4 separate regions of the Homo sapiens genome follow, and all the other regions are linked to region 4. Evidence: promoter capture Hi-C in 16 types of primary human blood cells and fetal thymus (Javierre and others, 2016). All regions are on one chromosome and are shown on one strand. Each heading gives the region's core, a stretch centred on a gene start or on the middle of the fragment in contact. The rest is flanking DNA. Distances are from core to core; before and after follow the strand shown.

Region 1 (2,878 bases), core at 146-2,645, 210 kb before region 4:
CAGCTTTAAGCAAAATGACATACAAGGAAACCAATTTTGTCATAGGCTAATTGACATAAACAAGAGTTAAGTTCCTACAGCATATTTCTGGTGATAGAAATATCATCAGACTTCTAAATAAAGACCCAAATGCTTCTCATATTAAACATTGAAACACGTGTAAGAAAGACTAATAGAAACAAGGCCAGGTGTGGTGGCTCACACCTGTAATCCCAGCACTTTGGGAGGCTGGGGAAGGTGGATCACCTGAGGTCAGGGATTTGAGACCAGCCTGGCCAACATGGCGAAACCCTGTCTCTCCTAAAAATACAAAAATTAGCCGGGCTTGGTGGTGGGCACCTGTAATCCCAGCTGCTCAGGAGGCTGAGGCAGGAGAATTTCTTGAATCCAGGAGGCGGAGGTTGCAGTGAGCCAAGATTGTGTCATTGCACTCCAGCGTGGGCAACAAGAGTGAAACTCCATCTCAAAAAAAAAAAAAAAAAAGAAAGAAAGAAAGATTAATAAAAACAAGTAATAGAATTATTTATCCAGTTATTCCAGTTCAAGGTCATGGATGGCTGGAGCCTATCCCAGCAGCTCAGGGCGCCAGGCGGGAACCAGGCCTAGACAGGATGCCATTGCCTTGAGTACACTCACACTCATGCAGACTGGGAGCATGCAGACAAGCTAGTTAATCTAACATGCACATCTTTGGGATGGGGGAAGAAACCAGAGTACCCAGAGAAAGTCCTCTACAGACTCCACACAGACAGTAGCCCCAGCCAGAAATAGATTTTTTTCTTCATCAATGTTGTAACAAAATAATGTTGAACAAAATGAGCCAGGAGTGGTCGCACACCCCTGTAGTTCCAGCCACTTGGGAGGCTGAGGCAGAAGGATCGCTTGAACCCAGGAGTTTGAGGTTACAGTGAGCTATGATCATGCCACTGCACTCCAGCCTGAGCAATAGAGACCTGTCTCTAAAACAAACAAACAAACAAACAAACAAATCATTAAAAAAAATAATAAAAGCTTTCAGTGACATCCTCCCATTTCTGCCTCCCACCATCCTCCCCTGCTTCCAAGGAGTCAGAAAAATGTCACAATCCCTTCATGATGTGCAAGGCTGAGTGTGACCTGGCCCTGCCCACTCTTCAACCCCATCTCATACCTCTACCACTTCTGTGCTTCAGCCACTCTGAGTTGCTTCCAGTGAGGGAGTCTCTCTGTTAACTGGACATAGTAGGGACTCAATTTGTGATAATTTGTGATCATAAACTAGGTCACATCTGTGAGCCTTGCTGAGCACTTTACATGTATTATCTCATTTAATCTTCATGCAACCCTATGATCAAGTATTATTAACCCATTTTACAGATGAAGAAACTGAGCCTGGGCATGTAAAAGGTTGTGCCCAAGGTCACAAAAATAGTAAATGCAGAGTCGAGTTTGAAACCCTGGTGTCTGAATCCAAACCTTCCTCAGCAATCATGTGATTCTACCGAATAGGTATTGATTTGATAAGAAGCATGTGCTCCACCTGCTCCCCAAAGGCCGGGCAGCAACTTAGGAGGGAGAGTGAGCTGTTGGTCTATGGAAGCATTCTAGCAAGAGCTGGGGAGCACTAGGCAAGATGTGAATTGGACGGAGTGTGGGGGCCCCACCCTGAGGCTGGGACCTCTGCCTATGCCTGGGATTGGGGGCTGTGTGCACGCATGGGTCATGTGATACCCTGTATATGGCCTTTCCCTGTGTCCAGGCCAGCCTAGTCCTTGGGGCTGGGGGTGGGCAAGAGCAGGTGGAAGCTTGGGGAGCCCGCCTCGAGCAGGCAGAGTCCAGCAGACCATAGCCTGTCCACTGTCCTGACCCTGTGGCCCTGGACTGGCCTCTGCCCTGGGCCTGGCACCTCTGGCTTGGGGAAGGGCCCAGAACTACTCAGGCACACAGTGAGGCCTGCCCTCCCACCTGCTACCAGGCAGAATTTATCTCAACTGAGTGAGAAATAGAGAGAGGGAGAGAGAAAGAGAGAAAGGGAGAGAGAGAGAGAGGCAATTGCGTAAGAGGATTTGAACAAAAATGGTTATGGCACTGGTGTTTGTAAGAAAGAGAAACTGGACACTGTTTACATGTCCTCCTCAAGGGCTGGACAAAGAGATTCTGATGTGTCCATCCTGGCAGACTTTAGAAATAATTAGGAAAAGAAAAAGTGATGGGGGAAGATCTTTATAGTTTATCTGACAGGAAACTGCTAATTGTCAATACTGTAAATGTTGGGGGGAATTGATCACAAAACAGAATGTACAGTGTGACCCCAAGTTGAAATCCTTCCCCCAGCCCTCACACACACTCTTCCACCAGCTCCCTCGTGACTTACCCTGTTGGCCAGTGGCCAGAGGGTGGGGGAGGGGGCTTATCTTGGGAAGTGGATGAGATCACCCCGAGGCTGGCTGGTTTAGTACCGGGTAACCTTTTCTACCCTTATGGCTCTCAGAGGCTTCTGTGCTGGCTCCTAAACCTTGGCGCCAACCTCAGGCTGGAGGGGGTTATGCTCCCCCTCCCCAGGGTGGAGATGGTGGCCAAAGCCGGATAGGGCACAGGTGCTGGGCTGACGCAGAGATGGAGTGGCAGAGGGGGTCTGGGGAGTTCCAGGGCTCAGCTGGGACCCTATGAGAACTCTGCTCCCAGCAGATCTGGGTGTCCTGTCATTTCCCAGGGACCTGTGTGTGCAGAAAATACATTTTGTGGATACAGGAATATCCCAGAGGATAGCCACTGTGTGAAGGGCCGAGGGGTCTCCCTGGCAGTGCCTCTAACACCTTGGCATGTCTTGGGATTCCAGTCAGCCAGCCGGGCTCTCCTCGGACAGGACTCCTCTTGTTTCTGGCCAAAATTCTGGTGA
Region 2 (3,196 bases), core at 265-2,764, 170 kb before region 4:
TGCACCACCACACCCCGCCAATTTATTTCCTGATTTTTTTGCAGAGACAGAGTCCCACTATGGTCCCCAGGCCAGTCACTGTGCTTTTTATATCCCAGCCACAGCCATACTTTTCTCTTGCACCTCTTTTCACCAACATCACTCATGGTTTGGATGATGCTTTCTTTACATGATTTCTTGCCACTTTGGACATGACATCCCTGAGGACAAGAAACTTGCCTGCCCAATTCCCACCATCATCCTACTGTCACATGACCTGGCACACAGTTGAAGGACACTCTAGTCCCATCAAGGGCATGTGACCCTTTGTTTGAAGGTCCTAGGGCTGAATGATGATGCCTGGCCCCAAGGAGCCTCAGCCTGGTGGGATGGAGACAGGCCCAGGAAGCCAGAGCGGGAAGGGAGTGTTACAGGCAGGAAGTTTGTAAAGCCCATGTTTACAGATCAGAGTCCCTTGAGCTAAGATGAGGATGGCAAGGAAGCAGCAATACCAACAGTTGGGAGGGCAGTCGATTGGTCAAACCCAACCGTGATGTCTGTCTCTCTGCCCACAGGCCAGGACTCAGCCAGTCCCATCCGGACCACACACACGGGGCAGGTGCTGGGGAGTCTTGTCCATGTGAAGGGCGCCAATGCCGGGGTCCAAACCTTCCTGGGAATTCCATTTGCCAAGCCACCTCTAGGTCCGCTGCGATTTGCACCCCCTGAGCCCCCTGAATCTTGGAGTGGTGTGAGGGATGGAACCACCCATCCGGCCATGTAAGCTCTCCAAGGGGTCCAGGGAACTCCAGGCCCTGGGGCAGGGGTGGGGGTGCTCTGAGCTCAGCTAGGCTGCAGTTATCATTTCATCTAAACCCCCACAGCCAGTTTTCCTTCTGAGTTTCGTGGATTCCCACGTGCATTTTTCCAATGAGCATGCTGAGGCTCAGGAGGGCAGAATAACTTCTCAGACTCCTGGATCAGGGCTTGGCATTCAGAAGACATTGGCTCCAGGTGCCGAAGGGAGGGGCAGACACACGTATCTCCCCAGATTCTGGTTATGCCAAGCTTTCTCTGCCACCAGTGGCAGGTGTCTCTGGGAAAGGTTCGGGTTGGCTCTATGAACCTTGTAGGAGCCCCTAACTCTAGTGGCAGATGTTGCAAATACCTGAAGAGAACAGTAGTGGTAGCTTTCTGGGGACCTGCACTCTCCACAGGCACTGTGTCCACTGACAGGACCAGGAGCCATTGGCCAAGAGACATGTATATGTATATGTATATGTTTCCAACTGGAGGCCATGTAGGAATGATGAGTTTTTGAGAGTTTAGACTTGGGATGAGAGACATCCCACTGCCCTTCTCATGAGAAATTAACATCCATTCACTCATGTAGCACACATATGTGGGCTACTCCCCTGTCCCAGGCCTTACGGGTTACAGGAATATAGTGGTGAATGTCAACACATGCAGCCAATGGTTCTCATAGAAACCCCTAAGAGTCAAGGTTTCCGGCAGTGCGAGGAATGATACCCAAGGTCCTCAGTAACCTCGAGGCCTCCCTGGAAGTCCAAGCTGCATCCCAGCTTCCCCAGAGCCTGTGGCCTGTAACTTGGTGGGAAGGGATTTTTGAGAGGGATCATGTGTGAGCAGGATATTGTGGGAAGGGTCTGAGGGTGGCTGGGAGCACCTCTGAACCCAGGGTCTGGTTTTGGCCACAGCCTGGCCCCTGGACTGATTATTTGCCCTGGTTACCAGGTGTCTACAGGACCTCACCGCAGTGGAGTCAGAGTTTCTTAGCCAGTTCAACATGACCTTCCCTTCCGACTCCATGTCTGAGGACTGCCTGTACCTCAGCATCTACACGCCGGCCCATAGCCATGAAGGCTCTAACCTGCCGGTGGGTGTCAGGCCACAGTTCACTGGGGGTTGGAGGACAGTTCTTCTGCAAGAAGCTGAAAAGGACAATATTAGCTCAGGCCCTGCTTCAGAGTGGACCATGCTGAGAAGCTTCTCACTGTCAGGTCCAAGAAATGCTCCTTACCCAGACTGGGCAGCTGGCCCCTGGACATGGGGTCACAGAGTTCTGGCTGCTCCCAGAGGTCAAAGGCTGTGGCTCTGGGCTGGACCCAGGACTCACTCAGCCAACTCATGCCAGGAGATCCACTTAAGTGCCAAAGGGCTGCACCTTGAGGTGACCAAGAACCCCAGCCATGGATAATCTGTTGGGCCTATAGAATGGGCACACACAAAAACTTTTTTTCTTAGAGATGGCATCATGCTCTGTTGCCCAGGCTAAAATGCAGTGGCATGAACATACCTCTCTGTAACCTCGAAATCCGGGATGATCCTCTCAGATTAGCCTCCCGAGTAGCTGGGACTACTGGCCTATTCCACCATGCCTGGCTCATTTTTAAAACATTTTCTGTTGAAACGGGGTCTCACTATGTGGTTCAGGCTAAGGACATTTTTGGTTAATGTTCATGTGGAGCCATCAGGGAGACACCCCTTTTCTTTCCACTTTGGTGAATTATCTGGGGTTAATGAACCCAGGCTTTGATACAGGGGGTTCGATTGCAAAGATTGGGAGGCCTGGTCTTCCTGATAGATCTTGGGTGCCTAACCATTTGCCCATGTAATGAATTTGTGCTGGAGATCTAATGGGGAGGTAGACAGAGGCAAAGCACTGGTTGGTCTAGGTAGTGGCCCTGGTGGGGTTTGGGCTGGGTGGGAGCATCATGGTAGCTGCCTTGATTTCCCCAGGTGATGGTGTGGATCCACGGTGGTGCGCTTGTTTTTGGCATGGCTTCCTTGTATGATGGTTCCATGCTGGCTGCCTTGGAGAACGTGGTGGTGGTCATCATCCAGTACCGCCTGGGTGTCCTGGGCTTCTTCAGGTGAGACTAGGGCTGGGCTGGGCAACCCGGGCTGAGCGGGGCCAGGACAGCCCTGTGATCCCTGTCCCTGCTACTTCTCAGCACTGGAGACAAGCACGCAACCGGCAACTGGGGCTACCTGGACCAAGTGGCTGCACTACGCTGGGTCCAGCAGAATATCGCCCACTTTGGAGGCAACCCTGACCGTGTCACCATTTTTGGCGAGTCTGCGGGTGGCACGAGTGTGTCTTCGCTTGTTGTGTCCCCCATATCCCAAGGACTCTTCCACGGAGCCATCATGGAGAGTGGCGTGGCCCTCCTGCCCGGCCTCATTGCCAGCTCAG
Region 3 (3,070 bases), core at 73-2,572, 230 kb before region 4:
GGCGGAGCTTGCAGTGAGCCGAGATCCCGCCACTGCACTCCAGCCTGGGCGACAGAGCGAGACTCCGTCTCAAAAAAAAAAAAAAAAAAAAAAAAAAAAGACTTTAGGGCAGGAATTTGAGGGTTTTTTTGGTTTGTTTTTGTTTCTGTTTTTGTTTTTTTTGAGACAGACTCTCACTCTGTCTCCCAGGCTGGCGTGCAGTGGCATGATCTCACCTCAGTGCAACTTCCACCTCCCTGGTTCAAATGATTCTCATGCCTCAGCCTCCCAGGTAGCTGGGACTACAGGCGCGCACCACCACTCCCAGCTAATTTTTGTATTTTTAGTAGAGACGGTTTCGTGATGTTGGCCAGGCTGGTCTCAAACTCCTGACCTCAGGAGATCCCCCCGCCTCGGCCTCCCAAAGTGCTGGGATTACAGGCAGGAGCCACCGCACTCGGCCTTGGAATTTGAGTTTTAGAAGTGTCATTCTGCCAGGCGTGATGGCTCACGTCTGTAATCCCAGCACTTTGGGGAGGCTGAGGTGGGAGGATTGCTTGAGCCCGGCAGTTTGAGACCAGCCTGGGCAACATAGAAAGACCTTGTCTCTACCCACCAACCACGAGAAAAGGTGGGAGGGGCGTCATTCTGGCTGCTCTGCTCTGTGGTTAGGACCAAGTCAAAGGTGGAGGAGGGAAAACCGTAAAATCAAGTGAGAGGCTTGGAATAGGGTGGCTGCGTCGCCGGATGGATGAGTGGAGAGAGATTTAGGAGATAGGATTTACAGCATTAGATAACTGGAAAGAGAGGGTGAGGGAGAGGAAGGAGTCAAGATGCCTCCCAGGGTTTTGGCTTGGGTCTCTGGGCAGATGGTGGGGCCATTACTGGGTTAGGAGAGAAGAGAAAAAGCAAGTTTGGCAGAAAGCTGAGTTTGGGGTAAGTTATGTTTGAGGCGCCTGGGGGCCTCCAGAGGCAGGTGTCCAGGTGGCTGGACATCAGGGTGTGGCGCTCAAGAGAGGGTTCTGGAGTGGTCGACACCGAAGTGGAGAGGAAGCAGTGAGGTGTTCTAACAACGGTGAGGAATTGGGGAGGCCGCTGGGTTCGGGGTATGCAGAGTGTAGCGGCCACGTAGCTGGCGATCTCAGGCACGTGACTGCCTGGTCCTGTGGCCCCGCGCTCGAACACTTTCAGCACCCAGGCAGGGGGTAAGGGGCGGTGTTGCCCCCTCCCGGGTCCCGCCTTTCTGCCCGCCTCTCATCCTCTTTAGCCATTGGGCAATACCTCTGTCCATCAAGGGCCCGCCTCCGCAATTGAGCCAACCAGGGCTGGCGGGAGGGCGCTTCCTTCTGGAGCTGGGTCCTGACTAGGGACCGCCTGGGTGAGGTGAGGACCTGGTGGCCGCAGTTGTGGCACTGTGCGCAGGCGCTGAACTGACCGGACGGAGCGGGCGGCTGTGGCCTCGCCAGCTGGTGAGAAGCGGGCGAGGGTCCGAGGTAGGGAAGGTAACGAGCGGGGGATGTGGACACCTCTTTCCCCGCCAGGCCTCGCCGGCGCCTGACCCTCCCGGCCTGCGGCACCGGCTCAGGTGACTGGGCGGAGGGAGAGCTGAGGTGAGGGGGCGGGTCCGCGGCGGAGAGGGACCAGCTGGGCCTACGACCACGGTCACCCCACTCACGTGCGCGCGCCACGTGGGCCCGCGGGCTCGCCGAGGACCCTTGGCTGCCTACCGGGGCACCCCACTAGCTGCTCTGGCCTATCGAGCACCCCTTGGAGCTCTGTGTCCCGACTGCACGCCCCTGTTTTACAGGCTGGCAAGCCGGGGCTCAGAGGCACCAAGCGGGTCGCCCGGGGGCACCCAGCTGGGGTACGGCCGTGCCGGGGTTCTAGGGAGATCGGTTTTGGTGGGCTCCGGAGTCCATGCACTTAGCGATGAGGCTGAAGTCAGAGATTTGAACTTGGGACCTGTCTGTTTTCTTTAAGGATGCAAGAGGGTTTGCGTCCTGGCTGCGGTGTATCACCCTGCACCGCTGCCTGCCTTGACTGCAGGGCCGGAGCGTCAGGCGCCCTCTGCTCCCGGACAGACCGCCCCCGCACCGACTTCTGCGGGGTGGGCTGGCAGGGGGTGGGGGAGTGAAGGGACGGTCCTCAGTCCTGGGAACTCTTGAGGTCCCGACAAATGATCTCGAGATCCCGAGGGCAGGATTCATACATGAAAAGCTCATTATAATGGGTCAAGGTTTTGTTCTGTTTTTTTTTTTTTAATTTAATTTAATTTAATTTAATTTAATTTAATTTATTATATTCCAAGGAAAAGTACCACCAGGGCTAGTGAAGGGACTAGGAAACTCGTCACCCCCTTGAGGAGGCAGATGTGAAGCTTTTGGAAATCAGTTTGGCAATGAGTCTACACCCTTGGACCTACTGACTCCTTGTTTGGGAAATAACTAGGATAAAACCTAAGTAGAGAAAAGGTTACTGCATAAAGCAGTACAGTTTGGTGGGGTTTTGTTGTTGTTGTTGTTTTTAAAGAGACAGATCTGGCTCTGTCGCCCAGGCTGGAGTGCAGTGGTGTGATCATAGCTCACTGCAGTCTTGAAATCTTGGGCTCAAGCGATCCTCCCACCTCAGCCTCTTGAGTAGCTGGGACTACAGGCACTTACCACCATGCCCAGCTAATCTAAAAATTTTTGTAGAGATGGGGCACTTGCTGTATCACCCAGGGTGGTCTTAAACTCCCTAGCCTCAAGTGATCCTCTTGCCTTGGCCTCCCAAAATGCTGAGATTATAGGCATGAGCCACTGTGCCCAGTCCAGTTTGGTATTTTATATTAATAAATAGCAAGTAGTAGAAACAACCTCTAAATTTCCAGCCGTAAAGAATAGTTAAGTAAGTTGTGATTATTTATGTCAAAATGTAGCCATCAGATGTGAAAAAATACTCTTATCAGGAAAGCCAGATTCAAAGTTGGGGTTACAACTCTACAAAAATACGTACAGAATGACTGTGCGCAGTAGCTCCCACCTGTAATCTCAGCACTTTGGGAGGCCAAGGGCGGAAGATCGCTTGAGCCTAGGAGTTTGAGACCAGCCTG
Region 4 (2,756 bases), core at 194-2,693:
ATGACACCAGCTAATTTTTTTTTTTAATAGAGACTGGGTCTTGCTATGTTGCCCAGGCTGGTCTCAACTCCCGGGCTCAACCGATCCTCCCACCTCATCCTCCCAAAGTGCTGGTATTACCGCTGTGAGCACTGCTCTCAGCATTCACCTTTAAAAACATATCTCTATCTATCTATCTATCTATCTATCTATCTATCTATCTATCTATCATCTATCTATCTATCTATCTATATCACGGTTTATTTAGCCACTTCCCTACTGGACATCTCAGTGACCCAGTTCTGTTGTTTTGGCATACAATGCTGCAGTGGACAACCTTCTCCATGTAGTTCATTTTAATCAAACAGCGACTTCAAATTTTGATAGAGCCTCCAAAGAAACGCTAGTATCAAGCCAGTTTGAGAATTTAGTATGCCACTCTCTCCCCTACTGAAAACCTTCTTCCAGGGGCAATGTAATGGAAAGGACTTGGGTTCTGCGCCTAGAACCAAGGAGCCTTGGGTCTTTAACATCTCTGGGCCTCATGTATTCGCCTATGTAAAGTCGGTATAATCTCGCATCTCAGGTTGGTTGTGAGAACCCAGAGACTGCCTCCGTGAAGGCTTGGCATCAGCATAGGCCTCGGCTGTCCTTTAGTTTCAGGGTGTCCCGGGGCACGGGCCAAAACCTCAGGCTGAACCTGCTAGAGGAACCTTCCTGTCCCTTGCAGATTAGGAAAACTGTGGCACAGAAAGCGCCAAGGGGTTGATCAAGACCCCCACAGCTTTGGTCCACGCTGCTGCCGGCGGCTTCGGATCCTGGTCCCGGGGGACTGCGCACATTTGGATGTGGTCAGCAGGGAGGCCTGGCCTGGCCCCTTCCTCTTCTACCCAGTCCTCTCCCCGAACCAATTCCGACCCCTAACGCCCACAGTCCTCACTCGCTTACGGTTCGACCCTTGCCCCAGGGGCGACTGGGTGGGGCCGTCATTCCTGAACAACTAAAAGCTGCTGCGGCCAGCGTCACCTCCGGCCCCAACGGAGACGGTGGGGGCCGTGAGGCTTAGGGACTCCGCGTCCTCCCTCCTGCTGGGCCTCAGCGTGCCCTCTGTACTTGCCTTCTGCTACCAGTGAACGTGAGTGGGACGTGTGTGTAGACAGCAGACGGGTCTTGTGCAGCTGTGTGACGTGTGTGTTGTGTGGTGAACCCTTCTTTATGTAGATATGTGAAGTGTGTGTGCTGTGGTGCACAGATGTAGGGGCTCACGAAGTACTGGGCTCCTTGCTCCTAGAGCCCGAACAGTTCCCAACGTTACAGCCCTGCCCGACTCAGCCTCCGCAGAGACGGCGGCGGGACCCGCAGTTTGCGCGTGCGCGGCTCCGCCCCAGGCTCCTCCCTCGCGCTGGCACTCCCGCCTTCGCCCGGCCCTCCCCGCGCTTTACGGCCCGGCACGCCACTTTTACTGCAGTCGCGCCCGCCGCCGTCGTTGCCCCCGCTGCCGCGGCTGCTGCAGGTGAGGTGAAGTGAGGTGAGGTGTGGTGTTGGGCCGGTGCTGCTGCCGCTGCCGCCGGGGAGGAGGTGGAAAGCGGGGCTGTGGCGGGCCGGCGGGGGCGGCCTGTCAGCCGCTGCTTTGTCTCCTTAGCTCGGGTCCCTTCTGCGCTGCCGCAGGGAGGCCGCCCGGGCCAGGCGAGCCGAACCAATGCTGGACCTGGAGGTAGTGCCCGAACGCTCTCTGGGGAACGAGCAATGGGAATTCACGCTGGGTGAGTTTGGGGTCCTCTGTCAGGACCCCATTCGCTGATCCTTGCTTTCTCCTGGGCTCTTCCCACCTGTTCTCAGTCTCTCACGCCCCTGCGCCCGCAGCTCCTCACCTCTTTCGTCCTCTCGGCTCGCTGGGCTCCAGGCACTAGATACCCGCTCCAACTGGCCCGATTTGCCTGTCAGTTGCTCGTCTCGGGTCTCAGCAGGGTCTCTTCTGGGACGGTGGAACAGTAGTAGTAAAGACAATAATAGCTTGCTCTCCCCAAATGCCTAATGCCCGGCCCTGCTCTTTTTGGACGTAATTCTCTCTAGTACCCCTCGCCGGCACCTGAGGATAGGTACTGTTGTTATTCCCATTTCCATTTTACAGACTAAATAATGGCTGAGAAGTGGCTGACCCCTCTGATCATCACTGTGGCCTGTGGTCTGTCTCCCACTGCTTTTCTGGGCTGTGGCTTCCTTCCCCTTTTTAGGAGGGGAAACCTAGGCTTGGAACCCATGATCAGATGTTGGGGCTCTGGTCAAGGGAGTTGAGTTTGTGTGTATTAAAGGAACAGCTGACTTGCTTCTCTCTTTTTTTTCTTTTTTTTTGAGACGAAGTCTCGCTCTGTCGCCCAGGCTGGAGTGCTGTTGCGTGATCTTGGCTCACTGCAACTTAACGCCTCGTGGGTTTAAGCGATTCTCCTGCCTCAGCCTCCCCAGTAGCTAGGATTACAGGCACGCGCCACCACACCCGGCTAATTTTTGTATTTTTAGTAGAGACGAGGTTTCACCATGTTGACCAGGCTGGCTGGTTTCGAATTCCTGACCTCGTGATCCGCCCACCTCGGCCTCCCAAAGTGCTGGGATTACAGGCGTGAGCCACTGCACCCGGCCCCGCTTCTCTCTCTTTTGAAATATAGTCTGTATCGGATGCTGTAATCCTAAACCCAGACCTCAGTTGTGACAGGTGAAGGTTGGATGAAATAGGAGTTAGGGAGAAGTAACATTTAGTTTCTAAAAAATGCAGTTTGGTC

What was found. The method cuts DNA at HindIII sites, captures the fragments that hold promoters and counts their contacts. A CHiCAGO score of 5 or more calls a contact.
Region 1: a contact is called between a fragment that was not itself captured here and the fragment with the promoter of PHAF1 in region 4, in 1 of 17 cell types (endothelial precursors). The highest score is 5.5, in endothelial precursors.
Region 2: a contact is called between a fragment that was not itself captured here and the fragment with the promoter of PHAF1 in region 4, in 3 of 17 cell types (erythroblasts, M1 macrophages and megakaryocytes). The highest score is 7.5, in erythroblasts.
Region 3: a contact is called between the fragment with the promoter of PDP2 here and the fragment with the promoter of PHAF1 in region 4, in 4 of 17 cell types (M2 macrophages, total CD4 T cells, M0 macrophages and 1 more). The highest score is 5.8, in M2 macrophages.

The regions. Positions count from the first base shown.
Region 1 is chr16:66,897,798-66,900,675 of GRCh38, forward strand. It overlaps LOC107984821 (a long non-coding RNA gene), which reads right to left. Exons shown (of 3, transcript XR_001752244.2): 2 at 2,796-2,871; 3 at 1,892-2,696. Among named protein-coding and RNA genes, the nearest start is that of PDP2, 19 kb to the left of the region's middle. RefSeq lists enhancers at 1,311-2,206, 2,207-2,878. The HindIII fragment of the contact is 773 bases long and covers 1,010-1,782 here.
Region 2 is chr16:66,937,483-66,940,678 of GRCh38, forward strand. It overlaps CES2 (carboxylesterase 2), which reads left to right. Exons shown (of 12, transcript NM_001365405.1): 2 at 555-759; 3 at 1,735-1,876; 4 at 2,740-2,873; 5 at 2,955-3,196. Among named protein-coding and RNA genes, the nearest start is that of CES2, 3.6 kb to the left of the region's middle. RefSeq lists an enhancer at 3,076-3,196. The HindIII fragment of the contact is 939 bases long and covers 1,046-1,984 here.
Region 3 is chr16:66,879,193-66,882,262 of GRCh38, forward strand. It overlaps PDP2 (pyruvate dehydrogenase phosphatase catalytic subunit 2), which reads left to right and starts at 1,323. Exons shown (of 2, transcript NM_020786.4): 1 at 1,323-1,448. RefSeq lists enhancers at 1,037-1,116, 1,365-2,137 and a silencer at 1,597-1,776. The HindIII fragment of the contact is 2,608 bases long and covers 1-2,354 here.
Region 4 is chr16:67,108,498-67,111,253 of GRCh38, forward strand. It overlaps PHAF1 (phagophore assembly factor 1), which reads left to right and starts at 1,444. Exons shown (of 16, transcript NM_025187.5): 1 at 1,444-1,742. The coding sequence starts at 1,679. RefSeq lists enhancers at 276-1,018, 1,019-1,760 and a silencer at 1,320-1,579. The HindIII fragment of the contact is 22,954 bases long and covers 1-2,756 here.